Linked DNA regions of Homo sapiens: regions 1, 2, 4, 5, 6 and 7 are each linked to region 3. The links are contacts of gene promoters, found by promoter capture Hi-C in blood cells and fetal thymus (Javierre and others, 2016). All regions are on one chromosome and are shown on one strand. Each heading gives the region's core, a stretch centred on a gene start or on the middle of the fragment in contact. The rest is flanking DNA. Distances are from core to core; before and after follow the strand shown.

The links. Contacts are between HindIII fragments. The CHiCAGO score rates a contact against its expected background, and 5 or more counts as called.
Region 1: a contact is called between a fragment that was not itself captured here and the fragment with the promoter of UBP1 in region 3, in 1 of 17 cell types (erythroblasts). The highest score is 5.1, in erythroblasts.
Region 2: a fragment that was not itself captured here is called in contact with the fragment with the promoter of UBP1 in region 3 in 2 of 17 cell types (neutrophils and erythroblasts); the score reaches 14.9 in neutrophils.
Region 4: a fragment that was not itself captured here is called in contact with the fragment with the promoter of UBP1 in region 3 in 3 of 17 cell types (erythroblasts, naive CD8 T cells and activated CD4 T cells); the score reaches 6.1 in erythroblasts.
Region 5: a fragment that was not itself captured here is called in contact with the fragment with the promoter of UBP1 in region 3 in 1 of 17 cell types (total B cells); the score reaches 5.1 in total B cells.
Region 6: a fragment that was not itself captured here is called in contact with the fragment with the promoter of UBP1 in region 3 in 4 of 17 cell types (naive CD4 T cells, naive CD8 T cells, total CD8 T cells and 1 more); the score reaches 5.7 in naive CD4 T cells.
Region 7: a fragment that was not itself captured here is called in contact with the fragment with the promoter of UBP1 in region 3 in 7 of 17 cell types (endothelial precursors, megakaryocytes, total B cells and 4 more); the score reaches 16.7 in endothelial precursors.

What each region holds. Positions count from the first base shown.
Region 1 is chr3:33,749,039-33,751,738 of GRCh38, forward strand. No RefSeq gene overlaps it. Among named protein-coding and RNA genes, the nearest start is that of CLASP2, 32 kb to the left of the region's middle. The HindIII fragment of the contact is 2,422 bases long and covers 199-2,620 here.
Region 2 is chr3:33,085,889-33,088,588 of GRCh38, forward strand. The region is part of intron 1 of GLB1 (galactosidase beta 1); the gene reads right to left. Among named protein-coding and RNA genes, the nearest start is that of GLB1, 9.9 kb to the right of the region's middle. The HindIII fragment of the contact is 1,944 bases long and covers 349-2,292 here.
Region 3 is chr3:33,439,104-33,441,803 of GRCh38, forward strand. UBP1 (upstream binding protein 1) reads right to left here and starts at 1,302. Exons shown (of 16, transcript NM_014517.5): 1 at 633-1,302. The coding sequence starts at 745. RefSeq lists silencers at 307-541, 461-510, 741-1,060, 1,111-1,220, 1,281-1,440 and enhancers at 760-1,259, 1,591-1,780, 1,991-2,280. The HindIII fragment of the contact is 4,671 bases long and covers 1-2,700 here.
Region 4 is chr3:33,824,784-33,827,627 of GRCh38, forward strand. PDCD6IP (programmed cell death 6 interacting protein) reads left to right here. Exons shown (of 18, transcript NM_013374.6): 5 at 404-557; 6 at 1,697-1,797. Among named protein-coding and RNA genes, the nearest start is that of PDCD6IP, 28 kb to the left of the region's middle. The HindIII fragment of the contact is 4,464 bases long and covers 1-2,844 here.
Region 5 is chr3:33,066,776-33,069,631 of GRCh38, forward strand. GLB1 (galactosidase beta 1) reads right to left here. Exons shown (of 16, transcript NM_000404.4): 3 at 2,045-2,195; 4 at 1,455-1,515. Among named protein-coding and RNA genes, the nearest start is that of GLB1, 29 kb to the right of the region's middle. The HindIII fragment of the contact is 196 bases long and covers 1,415-1,610 here.
Region 6 is chr3:33,048,063-33,050,762 of GRCh38, forward strand. All of the region lies in intron 9 of GLB1 (galactosidase beta 1), which reads right to left. Among named protein-coding and RNA genes, the nearest start is that of GLB1, 48 kb to the right of the region's middle. The HindIII fragment of the contact is 1,278 bases long and covers 749-2,026 here.
Region 7 is chr3:33,775,321-33,778,020 of GRCh38, forward strand. No RefSeq gene overlaps it. Among named protein-coding and RNA genes, the nearest start is that of PDCD6IP-DT, 22 kb to the right of the region's middle. The HindIII fragment of the contact is 2,869 bases long and covers 1-2,700 here.

The DNA of each region.
Region 1 (2,700 bases), core at 160-2,659, 310 kb after region 3:
CACCACACCCAGCAAGAGATCCTTGTTTCAATCCACTTTTAAAAGTCTTAAGTCCCCTCACCGTCCATAAAACAGTTTTTTCCTCTCCAGAAAGGGATGGGGAAGGGATGAAAGTTAAAATTTGAGGACAGCTGTTAACTACGTTTCTCAAGAAAGTCACATTAAAATCTCTGAACATCGGCCTGCCGCGGTGGCTCAAGCTTGTCATCCCAACACTTTGGGATGCCGAGGTGGGTGGATCACGAGGTTAGGAGTTCAAGACCAGCCTGGCCAAGATGGTGAAACTCCGTCTCTACTAAAAATACAAAAATGAGCTGAGTGTGGTGGCAGGCGCCTGTAATCCCAGCTACTGGGGAGGCTGAGGCAGGAGAATTGCTTGAACCCAGGAGGTGGATCTTGCAGTGAGCCGAGATCATGCCACTGCACTCCAGCCTCAGTGACCGAGTAAGACTCCATCTCAAAAAAAAAAAAAAAATCTCTGAACATCATTCTCAGAAAAATAAATTGTATTCTATTTTATTGTTACAAATTAAACATTTAATACTTGCACATGACTTCAAAAAAACTGTTGCAAAATTTGTGGCAAATAGTTGGGCAGTTCCTCAAAAAGTTCAGTATAGAGTTACTATGTGACTCAGCAATTCTACTCCTAGGTATATACCCAAGAGAAATAAAAATAGACAAAAATGTGTATGCAGATTTCATAACAGTATTATTCATGATAGCCAAAGAGAAAAACGACCCAAATGTCCATCAACTGATGAGTTAATAGAGAAAATATGGTATATTCATACAATGAAATATTATTCATCCATAAAAAGGTAGGGAGCAGTGATACATGCTACAACATGAACCATGAGAATACACTAAGTGAAAGATGCCACCATAAAAGACTGCATATTGTATGATTCCATTTATATGAAATACCCAGAATAGGCAAATCCACAGGACAGAAATTAGATTAGTGGTGCCTATGAGCTGGGAATTCCCTAGAGGGAGAATGGAGAGTGACTGCTAAAGGATGTGGGGTTTCTTTTGTGGCGACAAAAATGTTCTGAAATTAGATAGTGATGATGGTGGCACACCTCTCTGAATATACTAAAAAAAACATTGAATTGTGCACTTTCAATGAGTGACCTTTTTTTAAGACAGCAGACTTAGGATGAGTTTTATGGTATATAAATCATAACCCAATGAAACTGTTATTTTTTAAAATGTGCTAAATTTTTATTTAATAATGCAACTAAAGAGCAGAGAGGAACTTGCTCATGAAGCTAAGCTCAAGTGGGTAGTGGAGTTATGATTGGATGTCATCCCTGCCAATCTTTACTGCCCTAAGCGGGGTTATATTGGGGGTTGGAGCAAACATCTCCTTTAAAGCCAGTGTCTGGTTGAGAGGATAATCTCCCCTTCCCTAATGCCTTCCCCTCAAAAAAGTTGGAGGATCTCACAGCAGAGGTTTAAGGATTATTTAAGAAAAGGACTGAAACCGTCCGGGCATGGTGGCTCACGCCTGTAATCCCAGCATTTTTGGAGGCCAAGGGAGACAGATCTCCTGAGGTCAGGAGTTCGAGACCAGCCTGCCCAACATGGTGAAACCCCATCTCTACTAAAAATACAAAAAATTAGCTGGGCGTGGTGGCGGGTGCCTGTAATCCCAGCTACTCAGGAGGCTGAGGCAGGAGAATCACTTGAACCCGGGAGGCAGAGGATGCAGTGAGCTGAGATTGGGCCACTGCACTCCAGCCTGGGCAACAAGAGTGAAACTCCATCTCAAAAAAAAAAAAAAAAAAGGACTGAAACCAATGTGATAGTACCTGAATGTTGTTCATTATGATTTTCCGTTAAGCAGTTGTTCTCAACCTTGTCAGCATGTTGGAATCACCTGGGGAGTTTTAACAATACCAATGCCTGGGTCCCACCTCCAGAGATTCTGACTTACCTGTTCTGAGGTGTGGCCTGAGGACTGGAACTTTAAAAGCTCCCCAAGTGATTCCAGTGTGCAAGCAAGGTTGGGGGGCATTGCCATGGAGAAAAAGGAGCAGCAGAATATTTCACTAATTACTGTTTCTTTGGAGTTCTGAAATTTCCACTTATTGTTCATTTTTAAAGGCTTGAAATTGGGCTTAGCCCAAATAAATGATGTTGACAAATGCCTAGAATAGCTAAATTATTCTTAGTAGTAGTATTTCAGTTACTGTTTTCATTACTAACTTTTGGCTTCCAAGAGCCATGTTATTAAGTTTGACAAAAGTAAACAATCACATAGAAATAACTCCAAAACACTCTGGCAAAGATAATCTATATCTGGTTAACTGAACTTTAGTCAAAATGAGCAGTTCAGATCCTTCTTTAAGACTGAAATTGCTGATGTACCTTCAGAACAGTGTAGAAAAAAAAGACTGTAATACTTATAAGAACGTAATCAGCTTTCTCAGAAAGTCACAGTTAATCTTTTATTTCAAAAGAATGAGTAATATTGTTTATTGCTTTTTCTTCAGAAAACTCCAAAGTGCTTGAGAACCACAAACCAATGCTTCTGAAATCATACCTTCAGAAACACTTTTAGTGGCTCATCATTTCCATCAACAGTGAACTATGCCCGAGGCCACATCTGTAAAGCTTTTTATGGTTCCTTTGACTTATTTAAATGTATTTTTTAAATCAAAATTTTACTTGTAAATGTGAACATTTATGTAT
Region 2 (2,700 bases), core at 71-2,570, 350 kb before region 3:
AAGAGAGACTCTGTCTCTACCAAAAAAAAAAAAAAAGAGCCAGGAGTGGTGGTGGTGGTGCATGCCTGTAGTCCTAGCTATCTGGAGGCCAAAGTGAGTGTATCGCTTAAGCCCAGGAAATTGAGAGTGCAGTGAGTTACAGTCACACCACTGCACTCCAGCCTGAACAACAGAGCAAGACTAAGACTCTAAAAAGTAAAAAATGAAAAATGAAAAGGTCCCAACTGGCCAAAGATGGGCTATTTTGAGTATTAAAAGATGTAACACTTTGATGAACTAAAAAACATCAGATATATAAAATATCTAAATATCTAAATTCCTAACAATATTTCACCCACCCAGAAGAAAAGCTTATTGGTCATTCTTGGAGGTTGCTGTGGTATCAGATCATTATGCTATAAACTAAGGAATCAAGTGAAAGAATCTGGTATCTGTCTTGCCTTTGTTATAGGCTTTTTCAGAGTAACCACATAATTAATGAGGAGAGTTCTTTGTAAAGGATCCATAGCCAGTAAATGCAGGAAAAAAAGGGTAGAATTTTACAAATCACTATTCTGCAATCTTTAGTGAAATAATGACATTAGGCAACAATCACCAATGACTGCTGAAACATTAAATGGAAAGATAATGCGGAATTTTCTAGTGGAGGGATCAAGCTGACAACACCTGGACCAACAGGTCAATCTTAATATCAGTGAAGCAATGAATTCTTCCTACCCAAAAAGCGAAAAAGTTGAACCTGAATCCAACCAGCCTCTAGCTCTAACCTTTAGAGAGCTTTAGCTCTATGAGCTCACAGAAAATATGAACATGTTAAATGACACCAAAATCTAAAATGTATAAAATTTTAAGACATATGACCCAGATAACTTGAACAAATAAATGATAAAAAATAAGGAAAAGGGGATGTTATAGACTTAAGGAGACTGAAGAAATACACCACAGGCAAAATATAGACCTATTTTTAGATCCTGTTTCAAACAAAATAACTATAAAAAGACAATTCCATAAGAAGAAAAAAATAAACCCAAAGCTAGCAAAAGGAAATAAAATATTAGAGTAGAAATAAACAAAAGAGAATAGAAAGATAGTAGGAAAAAAAAACAGTTGGTTTTTGAAAAAAAAATCAACAAAATTGAGAAACTTAACTAGATTTAAAAAAAAGAAGATATAAATAAATCAGAAATGAAGAGGGGACATTATAACTGATGACACAGAAATAAAGAATTGTAAGAGAATAGCATGAACAACTGTATGCCAACAAATTGGATAACCTAGAAGATATGGATAAATTTCTAGACACACCCAGCCCACCAAGACCGAATCATGAAGAAACAGAAAATCTATACAGACCAATAGCTATTAAAAAGATTGAATCAGTCATCAAAAACCTCAAAGAGGCCGGGTACGGTGGCTCCCGCCTGTAATCCCAGCACTTTGGGAGGGGGAAGCGGCCAGATCACTTGAGGTCAAGAGTTTGAGACCAGCCTGGCCAACATGGTGAAACCCCGTCTCTACTAAAAATACAAAAATTAGCCGGGTGTGGTGGCGCGTGCCTGTGGTCCTGGCTACTTGGGAGGCTGAGGAAGGAGAATCGCTTGAACCTGGGAGGTGGAGGTTGCAGTGACCCAAGATCATGCCTCTGCACTCCAGCCCCGGCGACAGAGCAAGACCATGTCTCAGCATGCGCGCACACACACACACACACACACACACACACACACACACACACACACACACACTCAAAGAAAAACCTAGAACCAGATGGCTTCACTGGAGAATTCTACCAAACATTTAAAGAAGAATTAATACCAATCCTCCTGAAACTATTACAAAAGTTGAAGAGGAGGAACATTTCTAAATTTATTCTATGAGACCAATATTATCCTAATACCAAAGCCAGACAAATACACTACAAGAAAACTACAGAACAATAATATTCCTGGTGAATATTGATGCAAAAATCCTCAACAAAATACTAGCAAACTGAATTCAACAGTACATTAAAAGGGTTATATACTATGATCAAGTGGGATTTATTCCTAAAATGCAAGAATGGTTTAACATATAAAAATCAATCAATATAATACACCAAATTAACAGATTGAAGGGCAAAAACCACATGATAATCTAAATTGAGGCAGAGAAAGCATGACAAGATTCAACACCCTTTCATGATTAAAAAAACCAACAACTCAACAAATGCAAAATAGAAGAAAACTACCTCCACATCATAAAGCCCACATGTGAAGAGCCCATAGCTAACATCATATTCAATAGTGAAAGACTGCAAGCTTTTCCTCTAAGATCAGGAAAAAGGCAAGATGTCTGTTTTTGCCACTTCTACTCAACATAGTTTTGGAAGTCCTAGTCAGAGCAACTAGGCAAGAAAGAAATAAAAGGCATTCAAATTAGAAAGGAGAAGTAAAATGATCGATTCACAGATGATATAATCTTAGATGTAGGAAACCCTAAAGACTACACACACACACACACACACACACACACACACACACACACACAAACTGTTAGAACTAATAAATGAATTCAGCAAAGTTGCAGGATACAAAAAGCAACATACCAAAATCAGTTGCTTCTCTATACACTAAAAATGAACAATCCTAAATGGAATTTCAAAAAATTCCATATATAAAAGCATCAAAAAGAATAAAATACTTAGAAATAGGCCTAACTAAGGTG
Region 3 (2,700 bases), core at 52-2,551:
TAAACAATTATTTGTGGTGCAATCACTGCATCTTAAAACCCTCAAGAGGAAACAGCCTGAGAGGGTAGTCTCCAAAATGAGAAACTTCACTTTGAGACAATCAAAAGAACAAAACGAAGTCACAGTGCTACTCCCACCGCTGCTCTTTCAATTATAATTTACTAACATCAAGTGATTAAAATCTGCAGCCAGAAAAGATCATAATGTAGGACAACAAAGTAGGAACTGATCCCAAAACGCTAGACAGTATTCTCCCAATATAAGTGCTGCCTTTTCGTACAGTGTATTCTAGCTCCAATGGGACTTGTAAATCACTTATAAGGAAAAGAAGCCCCTTCCCCCACCAACCCAAGCCATCCTAATAGCTGGGCGTGTTTTACAGCAAATATGAAGCACTCAGGAGCGGTCCGAGGCCGACGCTTGCGGGGCCATCCTCCCCCACCCGCCCGTCACCAGGGCGAGCAGAGGCCTTTGGGGTTCCATGGCCCCCGACCGCCACGCGGCAGGACTCCGACCCCGCAGCCCAGGAGGCCCGCGCACCTCTGGGAGCAGCCGCATCTGGCAGAGACTCAGGGCTGCGCAGGCCTTCCCCAAGGAGACAGAGGCTTCTCCCCGCCCAGGGAGCCCAGTACCTCATGCTGTAAGCGCCGGCGCCCAGTTCCTGCCCGATGCCCGAGAGGCTGGCGTCGAAGTCGTGCACCAGCCCGGACTCGATCACCTCGTCCATCTTGAGCACCCAGGCCATCTTCCGGCCTCGCCGTCGCCCCGCACACCGCGGCCTCCGCGTCCAGGGCGAAGGAGCCGGAGCTCCGCTGGCGCGTCCTGGGGGAGGGCGCGGGTGAAGCCTCCGGAGGGGCGGCGAGTGGTCACCAGCGGCGGCCGGGACGAGAGCTGCGGGGGCCCCACTGGCAGGGCACGACGAGCCCAGCGAGCAATTGCAGCGGGAGCGGCCGGGCCGCCGGCAGCGCCACCCTCCCGCGGACACCGGCCCTGCGCCTCATGCCGGCGCCGCCGCCCAGCCCCCGCGCCGCTAGCGCTGCAGCCGCCGCCGACCGCCCCGCCCGGGGCCCCCCGGTCGCATCCTCCTCCGGGACCGCTGGGAGGCTGGACCTCGGGCCGCTCCGAGGACCACACGGGGGCAAGCCCTCCGCCCGCCCGTCACCCGCCCCCAAGCCTTGACTCCTTGCCCCCGGCCCGCCCAGGCTCTAGCGCCACACCGCCCCGGCCAACCCCGCCGACGCCGCTCTGCCGGCCGGACGCTGGCTTCAACGCGACTCCGACTTAGGTTCACGCGCCGCTTCCGCCTCCCCCGGCCCCGCCCCGACCCCGCCCCGGCGTTCGCCCCACGCCTCGGCCCTCCCCGTACAGCCCCGCGCTTAGGGCCACTCCCCGCGCCTCGCGGCCCAGGAACTGTCCAGAGAGTGCAATGCGGCCCCGCCCACGCGGCTGTTCCCAGCCGGGGTGGCCTCGCTGCGTCCCCGCACAGCAGCCCAGGAAGAGGCGGTGCCAAAAGGGCTGCCAGTTTCCGCCCCTTCTAGCGAGCGAGATGATTGACAGGCCAACTGAGCAATACCTGCAAGGGCTTGGACGAAGCTCCCGTGAGTCTCTGTGTCCCCCGACTAAACAACCAATCAAAATGTTCTTCACCTTGGGCGGGCTCGAAGACGGAATTTGTTGCCAAAAGAAAGAGTTCATTGGACTGCATGGTAGAAAGCGACCCAAAACGCCACTTCCGGAGGTGATTTGCTCCTCTGTGGTATTTCCCGGTCGTCTCTGCTTTATGCCCTCTCTACCGAGGGAGTGAGCGGTTTGCACCCCATCTGGTGACAGAAAAGCCAGTTGTGCAGAAAACCTTGATTGGCGTGAGAATAAGCCAATCAACGCTCCTGAGAAAGAGCTCTGGAAAGACTTCCCCTATTGGTTGCATTGCCGAGAGCAGCTTGGCTATCCTGAGTTGAACTAGCTGTTGGTCATCCTAAGGGCAGGCGGTCTCCTGAAGTTGGACCGAACCATTAGGACGTGCCACAGTAACAGCTACGCTGCTCAGAAGGCCCGAAGGGTCTTCCTCAGCGACCTAGCGTGGGCACGCGCCACTGCGGCCAAAAGACAGAAATCTTTTTACCGGAAGAGATGAAATAGAAAGCAGGAGCCAGAGGCTGACTTACAGAGCCAGTGTGCGGATCAGAGTTCCTTAGGAGCGGCTGCTGGCGCTTGACGGGCGGAATCCTTGCTGAAGAGAACGTCAAGGCCCGGGCTTCGCCCTGCATCGAACTTACTGCCTAAGAATAAGACCCAAATGCTGAGCGCCCCGCCCCAACTTGCCAGTTTAAGTGCAAAAATACATAGATTAAAATGTCAGCCTAATAAAGCAGTGGCACTGAGCCAGAAAAAAATAGTCTCAACGCCTGTGTGATTTAGATACTAACTTACAGGCTCACGCCTGTAATCCCAGCACTTCGGGAGGCCGAGGCGGGTGAATTAGTTGAGGTCAGGAGACCATCCCGGCCAACATGGTGAAACCCCGTCTCTACCAAAAATAACAAAAATTAGCTGGATGTGGTGGCGCGCCCATGTAATCCCAGCTACTCAGGAGGCTGAGGCGGGAGTAAGGCTTGAACCCGGGAGAAGACAGAGCAACACTCGGTCTCCAAAAAAAAAAACCACAAATTAACTTGGAGAATGTTTTTCTCTTTACACAAC
Region 4 (2,844 bases), core at 207-2,706, 390 kb after region 3:
TAACTACGGCATGTTTAATTATTTGAAAGATGAATTTGTTTGGGACCAAAGCAAGAGCATTGCAGTACTAAAAATATTTTAATGTTTATCCCCGCCTCTATTCTCATGTTAATTTTGAGGAAGTATATCTAAAAATAGTTTAATCAGATTGTTCCATTAGTTTACTTTGTTTTTCCTTGTAATTTACTTTTAATCTTTGTTAAATCTCTTGTTACGCTATAGAGTTTTAGAAAGATAACCTTATTGTCTGTAGGTCAGATGTTTTAGATTGGTTTTGCATAATATAAAAATTTAAATATATTAACTGTTCACTGAGTTAACATTTGAAATGACTTTTATATGTAACAGTAGGAAATTAAGTCTTGCTGAGTTCCTATAAAGAAATTCTTTTTCCCCCCTTTAGTTTGCTAGTGGTGCCTTTTTACATATTAAAGAGACGGTTTTATCTGCCTTAAGTCGAGAGCCGACCGTGGACATATCTCCAGATACTGTTGGGACCCTCAGTCTTATTATGCTGGCACAGGCTCAAGAAGTATTTTTTTTAAAAGCCACAAGAGGTAACTCCAATTTATCTTTTTGTTGCATGTGAAAAAAAGTGATAAGGCTTTTAAATTAAGAAAGTGATTAGAATATAATATGTTCAATGTCGAGCTGTCCTTCTTGAACTTGATACATGAATTATGGAAAATTTTCAGCTATCCTTTTCTGAATTTGTGGCACAAATTTACATTTAAGAATGTAGGCTGTGTTTGAAGTCATGAAATAGATCTTTAGTAATTGTCTTTAAACACTCCATTCTGGAATAGTATTTATGTATGTTTTTAACATGTCAGACATTTATTCGCAAATATTTATTGGATACTTACTCTGTGCCAGTCACTGTTCTAGTTTCTAGATAAACGGAGTTAGAAAACAACTTAGGTTTTGGCGACGGGAGAGATGATAAGCAAGAATTAAGTAGACAGGATAATTTCATAAATAATTGCTATAAGATTTCAGAAATAATTGCTATAAAAAATAAGAGAATTATATGATAGTGGCTGGTGGTATGGTTATGGGATAGGGATATAGGGGAAGCTGGGCTAATTTTAGATTCATTAGTCAAGAAGGCTTTCTTTCAGGAGGTCCTCTTTAAAGTAGACCTAAATGACAAGAAGGAGTCATCCAGGCACAGTCCCTAGCCCTGGGAATGAGGGAATAAGAATAATTCTTATAAGGCATATAAGTTAGCATGAGAGATTGAAAATGGGCTGAATATGTAATATGGGCTGAAACTGAAAATAAGAGATAAGTCATCATGTGGAAGAAATAGGAATTGGAATACTTTTTTCTTTTAAAATAACAGCTTATATTGAGATAGAATTTATATACACTCAAGTTCACCCTTTCTAAGTATACAACATAAGATTTTTAGTATATTCATAGAGTTTTGATTACCACTATCTTATTTTAGAACATTACCATCATCCCAGAAAGAAGCCATGTACCCATTAGCAGTCACTCCTCACTCCCCTTTCCCCCACTGCTGGCAACCACTAATCTATTTTGTCTGTTCTAAATTTTGTGCAGAAAATGTGATTTCATCAAGAAAGATGTTTTCAGATGCGTGTACAAACTTGTGACCTCAGTGTTTATACTGAGACATGTCAGATTAGCTCATATTTATTTTAATTATAATGGTCATATTGTATTCCAGATAAAATGAAAGATGCCATCATAGCTAAATTGGCTAATCAGGCTGCAGATTATTTTGGTGATGCTTTCAAACAGTGTCAATACAAAGATACTCTCCCCAAGGTCAGTTATTGTTTTTATAAACACTTGCTTACTTTGCATGTGAAATATTTAGACTTTTTTGTGTATAAGAAGCAAGTTGAAACTTATAAAGAAATTTGAAGTTTTAATAGAGTTATCTGAAGTATATAGTAGAAATAGTTTTTTTTTTTTTTTAATTTAAGATGCATGAACAATTCTTTTATGTTTAGGGGATGCCTTTGTCTTTACCTTTTACTAAACTTGTTTTTCCAAGCTAGAACTCTTTCTGGAAAATGTTGACCATCTGTTTTCAATACTTTTATCAAATCAAGGCATTGTGTAGTTCTGAATCATTGGTGATTTGGTACAAGCATGTATACTTGAGCATGTTGATGATTCACACTTTTAATTATTGTCCTGTTTTCTTAAAGATGAGCCTTAAAGCGCAAAAACAGACATAAAGAAAAAAGGAAAAGAAAACTTAACAAATTCATCTGATACTTTGATTAGAATTCAGTTTTGCCAACAGGGATAAAAAATTGGGCTGCTAATGGACAGCTAAGGAAAGCAACCATCTTAAACCACATATCACAGGAAGTATAATGTTTTAATGTAAACCTTTCTGAAGTGACAATTGTAAAGACTATTCAGTGATGATCATTTGTTAATGACAAAGCAAATCACTAGTAAATTTGGAATGATTAATAAAGAAAACTTAAAGATTGAGTGAAATATATGTTTCAACTACTTCCTTCAGAAATGTTCAAGGAATTAGTTTCATCATATGGTATCTGTTACATGATTTTTTTTGGTAGGGGAATTTATTGATTTGTAAGTCATATTCAGGAATCTTTGTACATTAAAAAATTGCAGACAACTTGGGGGTGAAGTAAAAATGCACATAAGTGCATTAACAGTACTTATTACTCAGAAAATGATCAATAAGGAATTAATGTGACGATTCCTGGGGATTTAAGATACACCAAGAGCCTAGTAGAAATTTGCCCAGGATTCTTGGGTATTAACAGCCTTCCTCTTAAAAAGAGACTTGGGATCTCCTCTCATGTTTTTTTCATCTGAAAGACCTCA
Region 5 (2,856 bases), core at 263-2,762, 370 kb before region 3:
ATAAATGTACATGCCACATAAAGTTGGCATAAAGATTAAATGAGTTACCACAGTGAAAACACCAATAATATGCTAAGCGTGCAAAACATGAAGGTACTGGAGTAAGACAAAGAAAAAAACTATCATTTACACATTGCTCTATAAAAGTGGCCAGAATATAGAAGGCATTGCAGCTACCAAGCAATCCAATGACACCATCCCAGAAACTGTCATTTTGTTTTTATTTCTTTTTTTTTTTTTTTTTGAGACAGAGTTTCGCTCTTGTTGCCCAGGCAGGAATGCAATGGCGCAATCTGGGCTCACTGCAACCTCTGCCTCCCAGCTTCAAGCAATTCTCCTGCCTCAGCCTCCCGAGTAGCTGGGATTACAGGCATGCACCACCACACCCAGCTAATTTTGTATTTTTTAGTAGAGACAGGGTTTCCTCATGTTGGTCAGGCTGGTCTCGAACTCCTGACCTCAGGTGATCCACCCACCTCGGCCTCCCAAAGTGCTGGGATTACAGGCATGAGCCACTACGCCCGACCTTATTTCTTTTTTTGAGACAAAGTCCCTCTCTGTTGCCCAGGATGGAGTGCAGTGGTACAATCATGGCTCACTGCAGTCTCAACCTCCCAGGCTCAAGCAATCCTCCCACCTCAGCCTCCCGGACTACAGGCATGTGCCAGCACACCTGGCTAATTTTTATAGAGATAGGGTCTCGCTATGTTACCTAGGCTGGTATCAAACTCCTGGGCTCAAGCAATCCCTCCACTTTGGCCTCCCAAAGTGCTGAGATTACAAGTGTGAGTCACCATGCCTGACTTGTCATTTTGATTAGCGAGGTGCTATCATTGGCTGTGGAATATGCTAAGTAAATAGGAAGAGAAAGCACTGAAGTCAGTTGGTCAACCGCAAACAGGGTTCAATACCAATTCAAAGAATTACCAGTTTATCAGTAAGATCTGGTTACGTAGTTCAAAGCCTAATTTCCTAGAGGTTTAGTTTGTTGCTATGCACTGGTCAGTGATAAACACTCAGACTTTCACTAAACTTTCAAAAGTATTTGTGCAGAGGTACCCCAGCCTTCAAAATACCTCCCCCTTTTGATATAAATTGTTGAAGCTTTTTTGTTTGTTTGTTTGTTTTGAGACAGAGTCACGCTTTGTCACCCAGGCTATAGTGCATTGATACGATCTCGGTTCACTGCAACTTCCGCCTCCAGGGTTCAAGCAATCCTTCTGCCTCAGCCTCCTGAGTAGCTGGGATTACAGGCGCCCACCACCATGCCCAGCTAATTTTTTGTATTTTTAGTAGGGGCGAGGTTTTGCCATTTTGGCCAGCCTGGTCTCGAACTCCCAACCTCAGGTAATCCACCCGCCTCAGCCTCCCAAAGTGTCAGGATTACAGGCGTGAGCCACCGCACCTAGGCTGAAGCTTTTATAAATCTTCTCAAGACATCTGTAACAACCTACCTGGGTCGGAGGAGCGGAGAAGAATAGACTCTTTCTCTAGCAGCCAAGCAGGTAATCCTCCCTAGTTCAGGGAAAACAAGCCATTATAATGTCTGTTCCGTGAAGGGTGCTCAGAGGAGATAGAAATTACTATTAGTAGTTATGGAAAAGAATAAAAGCTTCAAGGGACAAGGGGTATTTGAGCTGGGCTTTTTGGTTTATAACTTGCAGAGAAATTAGAAATTGGAATGTAGGACAATTAAGATCACTCTGCATGAATGCAATGTTTTAAGGACCAAAGCCCTTTTCATAAAGATTTTTCAATTTAATTTCACAAATACCCTGTGACGTAGATAGAGAAGACACCATTAACTGCTTCTTACAGATGAGCAAGCTGAGGTATGTGAGTGACCACCAAGAGGAGAGCCCATGCCCTGACCCTGGCCTGTTTCTCTGCCTGGGCACCTTGTCAAGGTAAAAGACACCTGTGCTGGGTACAGTCCCAGGCCCCATGCTCTCTGGAATGCAGGTCTGCTTTAATTCCCTTTGCCCCAGAGCTGCTGCCTGCCAGCTCACACACACCAGGTAGAGCCCAGTCTAGCCACACTCACCATTTCCCACTCTGCACAGATGTAGGGCCCGGGCCTCAGGATAACCAGCAGTCCCAGCTCATGAGCCAGCCGAAGAAAATATTCCACATCATGGTCCTCAGAAAACTGGTACTGTCCTGGCCAGGGCTCATGAAAGTTCCAGGGCACATACCTGCCAAGACACACACAGCCCCTTCCTGGATACTTGGCAGAGTCAAGAAGAAAGAAGCGTGGGGAAAGGGCCTCATTAGGACTATTGCTAACACATGGATAAGAGGGAGAAGGCGCTTTGAAAGAAAAATTATCCAAGGCTGGGCACAGTGGCTCAGGCCTCTAATCCCAGCACTCTGGGAAGTCACGGTGGGTGGATGGCTTGAGCCCAGGAGTTTGACACCAGCCTGGAAAACATGGTGAAACCCCGTCTCTACAAAAAACACAAAAAAATTAGCCAGGGTGTATGCCTGTGGTCCCAGTTACCCTGGAGGCTTGAGGTGGAGGTTTGCTTAAGCTAGGGAGGTTGAAGCTGCAGTGAGCTGTGATTGTGCCACTGCACTCCAAACTGGATGACAGAGTGAGACCCTGTGTCAAAATAAAGAAAGAAAAGAAAAGAAAAATTATCCAGAATTTGGATATAAGGCAAAAGGGTGACTGCATTTCCTTTCCATGTTATAATGGAGGACTGTCCAATGGGCCCACTGAGGCTTCCTTCATTCTCCAGGGGAGATATTTTGTTTGACTTACTATTTACTATTGATTAAGGGAAGAACTTTGAAGTTACAGATTAATTTGTAGATTATTGCCTGAGAGAGAAACAAATGATTGTCATACAGAGA
Region 6 (2,700 bases), core at 138-2,637, 390 kb before region 3:
TGTCTCTCTCCATGCTACACTGCTTGCACCTCAGGGGCAGAGACTGTGCCTCACTTGCCCTTGAGTCCTTAGCCAGAGCCCAGCATGGAGGGGGTTGCCAGGTTGAGTTGGGAAAGTGTGACCTCTAGAAGCACACTTTACAGGCCGAGGGAGCCCAGGCTGGGAAGCTGTCCAGTGGGTTTAAGGATGGATTGGAAGACTAAGTATTTGTTCTAGTTCTACTGGCAGAATCTTACTTTGGGTGTTTTTAGACCACCAAAGGGCAGCATCGCAGAGAAATGGTGCAGATTCAAGCCTCCTCTGGCCACTTAAGAGGGTGTGAGGTGGGAAGGTGAAAGAAATGGTGAGACTTTGCATTCATCAACATTCCACATTGTGTGAGAAGTACAGGAGCGCCTGGACCCTGTAGGCAGCCATCACACAGCTGTGGACACACACAGGTGTGGAGGAAGGAGACACACACCTGCACAGGCAGGTGCATGTTCCTGTGGGTGGGATGGGCAGTGAACTCCCCACTCCTGATGCCTTTCTCTCCCTGCTCTCCTCTAGGAAGCTGGCCTGAAGAACAGCTGCTAAGTACAGACTGGCCTTCTCTCACTTCCTCAAAGAGACAGGGCAAAAAGCAGCTTCAGGGAGGCTTGGCAGAACACAGTGGGGTGGGTGTGGGGGCTGGCTCAGGGGCTCCAGGGTGCAAAGGGTGATCCAAAGCGCAGTGACTCTGGCTCACCACCACCTGAGTTCCAGTCCAAGCTTCACCCCTTGCCAGCTGAACAGAAAACGTGTGGACTTTTTTTTGTATTCAGCTATTCTTATCTGAAAAGTGGTGCTGATAATCTCTAATTAAGATGAGGCTAATATGCAGGCTAAATAAGGCAACAGAGGAAGAAAGGGGAATTCTATGGATTATGGCAGAGGGAGGGGCAGGAGAGAGGATTAAGGACAACATTTATGTTCTGACAGTTTCTATAATGTCCAATTTTTTTTTAAGATGAATGTGTTATTTTAAGTATAACAGTAAGATTTTTAAAAAATTGTGTCATGAACCATAAAGTTCCAAAAACGATGCCTTTTTTCCTGGATCGGATGATTGGTCCCGATCCCATCAATGGCAGCTAGGGGGAATCCCCATCTACTAAGTGAAAAAGGCACCCACCAGGTCTCAACTGTTTCTCATAAGATGAACACAGAGGGATTATCTAAAATATCAGTGACCAACCTTGGCACACTATTATCTTTTCCTTTTTTTTAATTTAATTTAAGTTCCGGGATATATGTGCAGGACGTGTAGGTTTGTTACATAGGTAAACGTGTGCCATGGTGGTTTGCCACACCTATCAACTGGTCACTTAGGTATTTATTTTATTTTATTTTTGAGACAAAGTCTCACCCTGTCACCCAGGCTGGAGTGCAATGGCACGATCTCAGCTCACTGCAACCTCCACCACCTGGGTTCAAGTGATTCTCCTGCCTCAGTCTCCCGAGTAGCTGGGATTACAGGTGAGCGCCACCACAACCAGCTAATTTTTTGTATCTTTAGTAGAGACAAGGTTTCACCATGTTGGCCAGGCTGGTCTCAAACTCCTGACCTCGTGATCCACGCACCTCAGCCTCCCAAAGTGCCGGGATTACAGGCGTGAGCCACCGCACCCAGCCTGGTCACCTAGGTATTAAGCCCTGCATGCATTAGCTATTCATCCTGATGCTCTCCCTCCCCTCACCCACCCAGACACGCCCCAGGCACACTATTATCTTATATGCAGTGACATTTGAGTTTTGCAATATCTTCATTTCTTGGCTCTACTAATAGTATTAAAATTGATAATGCTTGTAAGCGATGTCTTCTCCTAGCCCATCTCAGCCTGCAAAAAAGATAGCAGTTCAAAGGAGAAACTTCATTAAGAGCTGATAGTATCCAATTTCAGATCCTGAGAGATTTAGGCCCAAACTAAGCCTTCAAAACTCAACAGCTGGGCATCCTCCATGATTCAGAGAGAAAAATGCAAATAAAGAGACAGGTGGGAAATGAAGCTTAGCGAAAAGCCAGTACAGCATCATCTGTCTTTGCAAAAAAACAACAAAAATCAAAGACGTTACAGAAAAATTTTGTCATAATTTTTCCTACACAAAAAAATACAGAAATGTAAAGTGGTGTGGCCTTTTTGGGAAACACTATGGCAGTTCCTGAAACTCTAAACATAGAGTTACCATATGACACAGCCGTTCCACTTCTTGGTATACACCCAAAGGAACTGAAACAGGAATTCAAACAAATCCTTGTACATCAATGTTCAAAGCAACACTATAACCAAAATGTGCAAATAACCCAAATGTCCATCAACCAATGAATGGATAAATAAAATACTGTACATCCACACAAGGGAATACTATTCAGCAATAAAAAGGAATGAAGCACTAGTACGTGCAACAACGTGGATGAGCGTTGAACACATTGGGCTAAATGAAAGAAGTCATACAGGTGTATATATGTGGTTCACTTATACGAAATGTTCAGAATTGGCAAACCCACAGGGACAGAAAGTATATTATTTCCAGGGGCTGAGAGGAGGGAGAGTGTGGAATGAATGCTAATGGGTATGGAGTTTCTTTTTGGGGTGATAAAATGTTTCTGAATTAGATAATGGTAATGGTTACACAACTTTGTGAATACAGTAAATACCACTGCATCATATACTTAAAAAT
Region 7 (2,700 bases), core at 96-2,595, 340 kb after region 3:
TATCTATTATGTGCTTTTTCACACTGACTCTGGGACAGTCTGAAGTTGGTAGTGTCTGTTAAGCTCCTCTAGCTTGCCAATCCAGGTGCCTGGTACCTTCCCAGAACTGCCTTTTTCATGTGACCCTGATATTCATTCCTTTCCCAGTGCTCTTCCTGGGTAACCTGAAAAATAGCCCCAGGATAGTGAAAAGTAGTCTTCTTTCTCATCCAGAGATTAAGTGCATTTTAAGCATGGTCATCTTCTAAAGGAATGAATCATCCTAATCAGGAAAATCTGAGGCACCAGAACAAGTAGTTATATTTTGCTCGGAAATGCTTTTAGGGATACTGAATGAGGTGGTATGTACCCATAACGCCAGCTACTGGGGAGCCTGAGGCAGGAGGATTGCTTAAGTCCAGGTGTTTGAGACCAACCTGGACAACATAGCGTCAAAAACATTTTTTTGAGACCCTGTCTCAAAAAAAAAAAAAAGGAAAAAAAAAAAAGGAAATGCCTTTAGGTGCTCCTTTATATTGTTGTGAGTTTTGTTCCCATGAGACAGGCTCTATAGTATCTGGCTCTTTTCCTAAGCACTGCAAGAAAGCTAAACACAGGTCACTCTGCCAGGCCTACCAAAGTATGTCCTCAGTCTTCCCTACCGCAACATCACTCCCTACCAAGATAGCCCACCCCACCATCTCACACTGGGAAGATTCTGTTTAAGTTTTCTTGAATCTTTAGAAACAATTTTGGCCTCTCTGCTGGGGGAAGGAGTAGAGAATGCTGTTATCTGGGGACTGATACTTCCGTTTGTTCAGAGGAATAGCTCAGTGGACTACCATTCTTGGTAATGGTATAGTTGACCCTTGGAAAACATGAATGTGAACTGCACAGCTCTACTTATATGTGGATTTCTGCCACCCCAGGAAGAGCAAGACCAATCCTTCTTCTTTCTCCTCTTTCTCAGCTACTCAAAGTGGAAGATGAGGAGAATAAAGACCTTTATGATGATCCACTTCCAGTTAATCAATAGTAAATATATTTTCTCTTCCTTATAATTTTACTAACATTTTCTTTTCTCTAACTTACTTTATTGTAAGAATACAGTATATGTGTTATATACTGTATATAATACATGTTATATGAAATATGTTTTAATCAACCATTTATGTTATCAGTAAGTCAATAGTAAGCTATTAGTCATTAAAAGTTTAGGGAGTCAAAAGTTATAGGCAGATTTTCCACTGTGCAGGAATAAGCGCCTCTAACTCTGTGTTGTTGAGGGGTTAACTGAAATTCCTACAAATTTTCATGAAAAGTTTAATTACTTTTTGTGTGTTTCTGAACATAGGCTCCCTCTTGTGGTTCATAGGATATATGATATATAAGAGATAGGAAATTTTATCTGCATTTTTGCAGTTGCAAAGATTACTTGGGCACTGGTAGAAAGATGATTATAGCTGAAGGCATTGATGATTTTTTTTTTTTGAGACGGAGTCTCGCTCTGTTGCCCAGGCTGGAGTGCAGTGGTGCAATCTCAGCTCACTGCAACCTCCGCCTCCCGGGTTCAAGCGATTCTCCCGCCTCAGCCTCCCCAGTAGCTGGGACTACAGGCGCATGCCACCACGCTCAGCTATTTTTTGTATTTTTTTAGTAGAGACGGGATCTCACCGTGTTAGCCAGGATGGTCTCGATCTCCTGACCTCGCGATCCACCTGCCTCGGCCTCCCAAAGTGCTGGGATTACAGGCGTAAGTCATCGTGCCTGGCCTGCACTGATAATTTTTAAATGAGTAATGTAAAGACCTAAGTTAACTTATTTAAGAATTATGCTTGTATGAAGACCCAGTAGGCAAGAAATTATAGCATTTGAATAAAGAAAAATCTGTTTAACCAGCATTTTAAAAGTAATAACTGGCCGGGTGCAGTGGCTCACATGTCTAATCCTAGCACTTTGGGAGGCTGAGGTGGGCGGATCACTTGAGGCCAGGAGTTTGAGACCAGCCTGGCCAAAATGGCGAAACCCATCTCTACTAAAAATACAAAAAATTAGTTGGGCATGGTGGCGCATGCCTGTAATCCCAGCTATTCAGGAGGCTGAGGCAGGAGAATCGCTGGAACCCAGGAGGCGGAGGTTGCAGTGAGCCAAGATCACGCCACTGCACTCCGGCCAAAGTGCGACTCTGTCTCAAAAGAAAAAACAAGTAATAACTAATATTTATTGAGTTATTTAATGTTCCAGGTACTATTATAAACACTTTATGTAAACAATTATGTAACTTTTTTTTTTTGAGATGGAGTCTCGCTCTGTCACTCAGGTGAGTGCAGCGGCATGAGCTTAGCTCACTGCAACCTCCACTTCCCGGGTTCCAGCGATTCTGCCGCCTTAGCCTCTCGAGTAGCTGGGATTACAGGCATGTGCCACCATGCTGGGTGAATTTTTTTGTATTTTTAGTAGAGAGGGGGTTTCACCATGTTGGCCTGGCTGGTCTCGAACTCCTGACCTCGAGTCATCTTCCCGCCTCAGCTTCCCAAAATGCTGGGATTACAGGCATAAGCTACCACGTCCAGCATTATGTAACTTTTTATTATGGAGAATTTCACACTTAAGAAATGAAGAAAAAAGCAAAAAGAGCTTCCATATGTGCATTATCCACTTTCAACTATTTATCAACGTTTGAACATTTTGCTATACCTATTTATCTATCACTATCATTCC